3 separate regions of the Homo sapiens genome follow, and all the other regions are linked to region 3. Evidence: promoter capture Hi-C in 16 types of primary human blood cells and fetal thymus (Javierre and others, 2016). All regions are on one chromosome and are shown on one strand. The core of a region is centred on a gene start or on the middle of the fragment in contact, and the rest is flanking DNA. Distances in the headings are between cores, read along the strand shown. Region 1 holds the start of ZFPM1 (zinc finger protein, FOG family member 1). Region 2 holds the start of IL17C (interleukin 17C). Region 3 holds the start of ZNF778 (zinc finger protein 778).

Region 1 (2,700 bases), core at 28-2,527, 760 kb before region 3:
GGGTCTTAGGAGCTCCCAGCAGGCTGGCGGGTGGTGTGACAGTCCTGCTGTGCGATGATCTCATCATCAGGTGGGAGGGGTCCTTCCTGTCTGCCCCTGGGCCCACTGACGCCCGTTTCTTATGAGTACGGGGGATGGGGGAGCAGGTAGCAAGTGTAGACCGAGAACATTAAAAGGAGATGATACAACTCAGCTGGGAGTGGGGGACAGCCCCCCAATGCGTGACCTTGAGCAAGTCCCCGAGCCTCCGTGAAGTGGGGCTCTTGAACACACCCCAGAGGGCAACAGTTCTCCATTTCCAGGCCTGAGCTGACAGCACCGCGCCCACAAACCTCGCTGACCTCTGACTGCTCCGAGAGGGGGCTGTGGCCCGGGCGCTGTGGGCAACTCCTTCGTGGGTCTCCTGCGGGGCGCCCTGGAGAGGCTCGGTGAGGAAAGAGGCCCCAAGTGGCAACGCCCAGGGCTGCCGGCTCCCGCGCCCCCTCCTCGATTTCCAGCCTGGTCTGAGCTCACAGGGGAAGACCCGAGATCCTGCTCTCAGTTGGCGGACCCCACCGCAGTCTGGGACGGAAGCCCCCTCCCTGGCCCGAATCCGCTCCACACCCCAAGTCTGGCCCAAGAGAAACGTGGGCGTCAAGGCCTCGGGCTTCCTGAGCCGGTTGTCACTGCCCCCACCGCGCACGTGGAGCGTGCGGCAGAGCCCAGGGGTCTAGGGAGGGACCAAGGGCTGGGGGCGGAGTTACAGTGCGGGGGCGGAGCCTCGGCGTCTCAGGACCCAACCAGGTCGGGTCAGGTTTGGAGGCGGAGCTGGCGCCGAGAGGCGGGGCGCAGGATGCGGTGCCGCGGGGCAGCAGAACAGAACCGAATAGGTCTCAGACTCCCAGCGCGGCCTGGGGACATGACCTCCGGGCCAAAGAGGAGTGGGGGAGGCTAGAGGTCTCCCCGGGGCGCGGGCGGGGCCGAACCAGGAAGGGGCGGGGCATCGAGCGGGGCGGGGACAGTGCCTTGAAGGCCCAGACGGACAGGGGCGGGGCCGCAGCGCTGGGGTCGGAGCCAGCGCCGTAAAGAGCGAGGCGGGCGGGGGCGCGGTCGCGGCTCTGGGGGCGGAGCCAGAGCAACGAAGAGCCGGGCTGGCGGGGGCGTGGCCGCGGCGCTGGGGGCGGAGCCGGAGAGGTGCAGGGCCCGGCAGGAGGCACGGGGCGGGGCCGGAGCGCCGGGGGCGGGGCGGGAGGTGCGGCGGCCGACGACGCTCAGGCCCGGCCCCGCCCCGTGCCTCCAGCCCGCCAGGAGCGCCCTCGCAGTGGCCGCCTGCTCCGCCGCTCGCCGCCCGCGGGTTCCATTGAGAAAAGCCGAGCGGCCGCGGCGGCGGCGGCGAGTGCGCGGGAGCGGAGGAGCCGGCACCCGCCCGTCGGGCAGTCCGCGCGCCCGCAACGCAGGACCGTGGCCTCTCGGGCCTCCGCGGCAGCTCCAGCGGCTCCGGGGCTGGGCGCGCGGGCTGGGGGCGCGGGCCGGGGCGGCCGCGGAGACCGGGGGCCGGGGGCATGAGCGGCCCCGCGGCCCCGCCGCGCCCCCGCCGCCCGCCGCCGCCCGCCCGGGGCTAGAGGCGGCCGCCGGGAGGGCGCGCGGCGCCGGAGACATGTCCAGGCGGAAACAGAGCAACCCCCGGCAGATCAAGCGTGAGTCAAACTTTGCCCGCGGTCCCCTCCGCGCGCCCGACCCCCGCCGGAGCCCAGCCGCCAGCGCCGCCCCCGCCCGTCCCCGCTCTGCCCTGGGCGCCGGCGACCTTCACCCCGCGCCGCGCCCCCCGCGCTGTGCCAAGCGCGCCGTAATCTAATCTCCGCCGGCGGCCTGGGCCCCCGCGTCTCGGCTTGGGCACCGGGGGGTTCAGCCCAGGAGGGGGCCGCCCGGAGGCCGGGAGGAGGGTGTTTGGGGGCGCGGCCCGGGCAGCTCGGCCCCTCGCGGCCTGCCCCTCCCCCGCATCTGCGAGATGGTGCGGCGATAGGGCGGCCCCGATCTGGGCTCAGATAAAGTTTAAAATATTACATTCTGCAAGTCCCGTCCTGATAAGATCGTTCTGTCGGGACGGGCTGAAATTGTGATCTTATCTCGCGCGGTTGACTCTCCCAGGCTTTGTATCTAGAAGCGAAGAGAGAGACCTGGGAGGCAGAGGGGACACCCGGGGCCGCGGAGATGCCTGGCCAAGTGGCAGGCACCGGCCCGCGCCCACCCCCACCGGTGCCGTCGCAGAGCCGCAGGACAGGGGAGGGGGTAGCGCGCAGCTGCCGCAGCCTAGGCACTTGGCTCCAGCCCCCCAGACACCCCCACCCCGTGCCCTAGCGCTGAAGTCCTGAACCCAGGCCCCGCCAGCCTGGTGACACCTCCTGGACCCTGCAAGTGTCCCAGCCAAGGCGGCATGGGCAACAAATGGTGCCCTCGGATGCCCGCGGGCACCCCCTGGCATCCCAATGGGCTGCTCTGAGTCAGAGAAGGGCCTCCCAGGACGCAGCCCCGGGCCGGGGTCGCCCCTGCACGCCACTAAGTTTCTCGCTGGTCCGGCTCCCTGCCCGGTCAGAGGCTGCTGCCCCGCCGCCACATTGCCAGTGCCCCCGCGATGAGAACTAAGCTGTCGGGGCCACTGTCTGGCCTGGGCCTCTGGGCTGTGCCAGGAGGGAGCAAGAGCACAGGAAGCTACCCTCCCCA
Region 2 (2,700 bases), core at 48-2,547, 580 kb before region 3:
CCCGGCCCCGCTTACATAAAGCTTCCTGTGTGTGCTGGTCACACCTCACACCTCACGCCTCACGCCTCATGCCTCATTCACACCTCACACCTCACTCCTCACACCTCCAACTCAGACTTTTTAGCTTGAACTTTTTTCTCAATAAAACCACAGAAGCCCAGGCCGGGTGCAGTGACTCATGCCTGTGATCCCAGCACTTTGCGAGGCCGAGGTGGGCAGATCACGAGGTCAGGAGATCGAGACCATCCTGGCTAACATGGTGAAACCCCGTCTCTACTAAAAATACAAAAAAATTAGCCAGGTGTGGTGGCGGGCGCCTGTAGTCCCAGCTACCCGGCAGGCTGAGGCAGGAGAATGGCGTGAACCCAGGAAGCTGAGCTTGTAGTGAGCCGAGATCGCACCACTGTACTCCCCGCCTGGGCGACAGAGTCAGACTCCGCCTCAAAAAAACAACAAAAAAAAAAACAACACAGAAACCCAACAGAGACCTGAAGACGTGCCTGCCTCCCCCATCTCCGGGACCTCTCCCACCTGGGTGAAGGGGGCACGTGAGCCTCACCTGATCTTGACCATCTCAGCTAAAACACTGAACCACCCTTGGCACCCACCAGCAGCAGACGGAGAAGAACTGTATAGGGTGCAAAAGCGCCCCGCCACCATCAGGTCCAGATGAAAACCTACAAGTTGAATCAGCAAGGTGCTGACGGATACGCAAGCAGAAACCCTCTTATAGGAGGTTCAAGGCTGGGCGCAGTGGCTCACTCCTGTAATCCCAGCACTTTGGGAGGCCAAGGCGAGCAGATCACTTGAGGTCAGGAGCCTCAGACCAGCCTGGCCGATATGGCAAAACCCTGTCTGTACTAAAAATACAAAAATTAGCCAGGCATGGTGGGGGGTGCCTGTAATCCCAGCTACTCGGAAGCCTGAGGCAGGAGAATCGCTTGAACCTGGGATGTGGAGGTTGCAGTGAGCTGGGACAGCACCATTTCCCTCCAGCTCGGGTGACAGCAAGACCCTGTCTCAAAAAAAAAAAAAAAGTTTGAGAATGTCAGACAAGGCAGCACCCTGTGTAGGTGCTCAGGTTGGGCGGAGTCTCTCTCGGGGGAGGGGGGTAACAGGACAGCGCCTCCCGGGGCCTCCTTGCATGTCTGTGTCCTGATGCACAGCAGGCGGGGGCTGCGGGGACCAGAGAAGGAAGAAGCGCCCCAGCTGGGCACTTCCCGAGGAGGAAGTGGTGCCGGAATTTCCCCCAGGTGTGGCCTCAGGTATAAGAGCGGCTGCTGCCAGGTGCATGGCCAGGTGCACCTGTGGGATTGCCGCCAGGTGTGCAGGCCGCTCCAAGCCCAGCCTGCCCCGCTGCCGCCACCATGACGGTGAGCCTCTCCACATGCCGCTCGGATGGATGCTGCTTGGATGTGCAGCCTGGCATGGAAGGGCTGGGGTTCTCTGAGCCTGGGAGGAGGGTGTTGGGATGGGGTCTGGGAAACCCCTCAGTCTGGGGGTAGGGGAGGCAGCTGCAGATCCTCGGAGCGCTGGCATGCTGGGTGTCTTGGGCTGAAGGGCTAGCCTCTCTGGGCTTCAGTTTCCCCATCTATAGAGGGAGGGCTGTACTCCATCTTTCCGCTGGGAACAAGGAAAGCTGAGGTGGAAGTGAGGTGCCCCCTGCCCTGGGCACCTCCTAACCACCCACCTGCCTGTTTCACCAGCTCCTCCCCGGCCTCCTGTTTCTGACCTGGCTGCACACATGCCTGGCCCACCATGACCCCTCCCTCAGGGGGCACCCCCACAGTCACGGTACCCCACACTGCTACTCGGCTGAGGAACTGCCCCTCGGCCAGGCCCCCCCACACCTGCTGGCTCGAGGTGCCAAGTGGGGGCAGGCTTTGCCTGTAGCCCTGGTGTCCAGCCTGGAGGCAGCAAGCCACAGGGGGAGGCACGAGAGGCCCTCAGCTACGACCCAGTGCCCGGTGCTGCGGCCGGAGGAGGTGTTGGAGGCAGACACCCACCAGCGCTCCATCTCACCCTGGAGATACCGGTGAGGACCTGGGGATTCCGCTGTGGCGTGGGGCTGCCCCTCCCCTGGCGGGGCCCTGACTGCCCGGAGAGCTCTCTGGGCCTTGGTGGTTCTCACCTGTCAAGTGGGCGTGGCCACCTGAGCTCCCTCCCTCCGGCCCTCCTGACCTGGACGGCTGAGCTGCTGCTTGCGGCTGGCCGTGCCCTGCCTCCCACTGTCCTAGGTGGCCAGGGTCCCCTGGGGAAATTCTGGGCCCGTCACCTGAGCTCCTGCAGAAGTGGGGCTGGGTGATGAAGTGGAAGGGAGGCTCCTAGAGGCCTCCGGACCCTGCTCTGTGCTCTTGGAGGGCCCTGGGGAGACGTGGATTACCACCACATGTGAGCCCGACTGCACCCCAAGCCCGTGTGGCTCAGCCCTCGCTGCCTCAGGTCCTATCCTGAGTACACGGAGAGGGGCCCTGAGGGGAGAGGGGCCTCCAGGAGGACAGGGTAGGGCCAGAGACTCACTGTGCACCCCGTCCCGCAGTGTGGACACGGATGAGGACCGCTATCCACAGAAGCTGGCCTTCGCCGAGTGCCTGTGCAGAGGCTGTATCGATGCACGGACGGGCCGCGAGACAGCTGCGCTCAACTCCGTGCGGCTGCTCCAGAGCCTGCTGGTGCTGCGCCGCCGGCCCTGCTCCCGCG
Region 3 (2,700 bases), core at 129-2,628:
ACATGGTGAAACCCCATCTCTACTAAAAATACAAAAATTAGCTGGGCTTGGTGGCACGTGCCTGTAATCCCAGCTACTCTGGAGGCTGAGGCAGGAGAATCGCTTGAACCTGGGAGGCGGAGGTTGCGGTGAGCCAAGATTGTGCCCCTGCACTCCAGCCTGGTCGACAGAGCAAGACTTCGTCTCAAAAAAACAAAACAAAACAAAATTAAAAGAAAAAAAAACATATCCCAAGGGCAGGCACGGTGGCTGCAGTGGCTCACGTCTGTAATCCCACCACTTTGGGAGGCCGAGGCGGGTGGATCACCTGAAGTGAGAAGTTTGAGACCAGCCTGGCCAACATGGTGAAACTCCGTCTCTACTAAAAATTACAAGGTGGGCACCTGTAATCCCAGCTACTTGGGAGGCTGAGGCAGGAGAATAGCTGGAACCTGGGAGGCGGAGGTTGCAGTGAGCCAAGATCGTGCCACTGCACTCCAGCCTGGACGACAGAGGGAGACTCCGTATCAAAATTAATAAATAATAAATAAAACACATCCCAAACACTCATAGTGTTGAACCATTTAGCATGTGGTTGCTTTGTATACTTCGTGAAATTGTGTCCAATCTCTGCTAGCCATAGATAAGATAAATCCTGGGGCTCTAAAGACTGCAAGCCGTTGCTGCCCTTCAGAGCTTTGTGACTCAGACACCTGTCAGGCTGCTGAGAAACGTGATCTAGTCACGTCAGCCCTCCCCCTGTCTGATCTCCTTCTTCTCTGGGAGTTCTCTGCGCGCCCCCCGCCCACGCTCATTTTTTTCTCTTTTCTGAGTAGTGACCCCCAATTCGAAGCCTGTGGGTAATCTCATGGTGCGTGAGACTCCCTCACCCTCCAACCTGTCAAAGCTTGTGCGCCACCGCCACCTCCTGGGCACATCTTGTTTCTTAATCAGCCACGAAATCACGTGAACACTTCACATGTGGTTTTGTTTTGTTTTTCACATTTAGACTCCTGATCCGTTTGGAGTTTATCCCTGTGAGATCCAGAATTAATTTCATCATTTCTCAGACGGCTAACCATTTGTCTTAGCACCTTTCATTATAAACTGCATGTTTGTTCCACCGCTCTGAAATTATGTTTATGAACCAAATTTCCATGTTACTGGGTTGATGTCTGGATATTCCATTTGTTTCCTGTTCATGTGTCACTAGCACACAGTTTTAATGACAGAGGCTGTTTTCGCATCTGTCGGGCATTGCGCTTTTGTTTGTCCGCGTCGTCTGCGTTATGAGACATTTGTTCCTCCATGTGAACTCCAGGATCAATATGCCTGGTTCCAAAAAAAAAACCTTTTCGTATTGTTACTGGAATCATGTGACATTTCTGAATGAACCTTGGGAGAACCCCTGGTATCAGTGCTATTTTGCAACGTAGTATAGGTGGTCTTGGCTCCTACGGTACATTAGAAAAGTAACAGAAACGCATATTTGAAGCGAAAAATAGATGAACATTTACAGAAAAAAAAAATACCACATTGAAAATGCAGTGGAATCAACTGTTAAAAGTTCGGCGTGATGTTCAGACAGATAAAAAGGAACGGGGCCAGTGACTCCCTGCAGAGATCGAGAGAAGACCGAGCACTCCCAGCACCCGCGGGCTTCTCGCTGTGACCGAACCGCGGGCCGCGCTCGCGACGAGCACTTCCTGGCTGTACCCGCCCAACCGCGCCCTCCTGGTCTGTTCCGGCTCCGCAGTTGCGTCCAGAGGCCTGATCCTTACGTCCGCCTGGTCCTCCGGGCCTGTCTCTGCCTCCAGCCCGGTTCCCAAGGGCGCCCCGGGGCCCTCCCGCACCCTCGCGGAAGAAACTACTACCTCCCCGCACCATAGGCCAAAGCTTCGGCCCGGAGGCTGGAGGCGGAAGTGACGCCAAAGACGCGCCGGCCCCTCTTCCGGCGCCGGCCCCGCCTCCGCCTGTCTTACAGCTGATCCGGTTCTTGCGGCGGTGCGTGCTGGCGCCGGAGAGTTCCGCGCGTGTCCTCGGGCTGTCCGCGGGGAAGCTGGTCCGGGAGTGGGCGCCCGCCCGCCTGCCTCGCGCCTTGCGCCCCCGGCACCGCTTCCAGAAGGGAAAGTCGCCGCCGCTCGCGGTAGACCCGGGCAGCGCTTCCATTCCGCGGAGCTGGTGAGAGAGGGGCCCTTTGCTTCCTTCACTTTGAACAGGGCGTGTTTCTGTGAGAATCTGGCTTCGGCTTTGACGTTTTTTATTTGTTTCTGGCACATTGTGTTGGGACCGAAGCGTAAGGTAGACCCCTGAGCGCCCCGGGCGTGCAGCTCCCTGTGAAAGTTAGCCCGTGGGGGCCAGCGGGAGCGCGCGTCCCTCGCCGCCGGGACTTCCAGGCCCGGCCCTCGGGGCGGGAGGGATGCGGCCGTTGTCCCGCTGGTCTTGGAGTAATCGAATCCACGGTGAACAGTGTGTTTCGACTAACTGTATTTTTTCTCACGTTTTGCTTTAGAAAATCTGAATCTAATAAAAATGTGAACATCTGCTACAAGGAATATCCACTGCAATCGTTTTACTCCTTTTTAGCTTTGGGCCATGTTTTCTCTCTCCCCCAATAAATAAACCTTACGGTGAATTATTATTTGAGTGTAAGTAAGTTGAAATTAAACTGCACACATGATACTTAACCTTTAAATACTTGGTAAAGCGTCTGTTAAGGGT

The links. Contacts are between HindIII fragments. The CHiCAGO score rates a contact against its expected background, and 5 or more counts as called.
Region 1: the fragment with the promoter of ZFPM1 here is called in contact with a fragment that was not itself captured in region 3 in 4 of 17 cell types (monocytes, fetal thymus, total B cells and 1 more); the score reaches 6.1 in monocytes.
Region 2: the fragment with the promoter of IL17C here is called in contact with a fragment that was not itself captured in region 3 in 3 of 17 cell types (M0 macrophages, total CD8 T cells and total B cells); the score reaches 6.4 in M0 macrophages.

Annotation. Positions count from the first base shown.
Region 1 is chr16:88,452,003-88,454,702 of GRCh38, forward strand. It overlaps ZFPM1 (zinc finger protein, FOG family member 1), which reads left to right and starts at 1,278. Exons shown (of 10, transcript NM_153813.3): 1 at 1,278-1,676. The coding sequence starts at 1,637. RefSeq lists silencers at 1,003-1,302, 1,313-1,402, 1,863-1,992, 2,213-2,282. The HindIII fragment of the contact is 8,831 bases long and covers 1-2,700 here.
Region 2 is chr16:88,637,275-88,639,974 of GRCh38, forward strand. It overlaps IL17C (interleukin 17C), which reads left to right and starts at 1,298. Exons shown (of 3, transcript NM_013278.4): 1 at 1,298-1,373; 2 at 1,707-2,035; 3 at 2,540-2,700. The coding sequence starts at 1,368. LOC124903755 (a long non-coding RNA gene) reads left to right here. Exons shown (of 2, transcript XR_007065181.1): 2 at 1-160. The HindIII fragment of the contact is 4,920 bases long and covers 20-2,700 here.
Region 3 is chr16:89,215,751-89,218,450 of GRCh38, forward strand. It overlaps ZNF778 (zinc finger protein 778), which reads left to right and starts at 1,953. Exons shown (of 7, transcript NM_001201407.2): 1 at 1,953-2,160. It overlaps ZNF778-DT (ZNF778 divergent transcript), which reads right to left and starts at 1,903. Exons shown (of 1, transcript NR_186410.1): 1 at 1-1,903. RefSeq lists enhancers at 491-785, 1,735-1,784, 2,309-2,700. The HindIII fragment of the contact is 989 bases long and covers 885-1,873 here.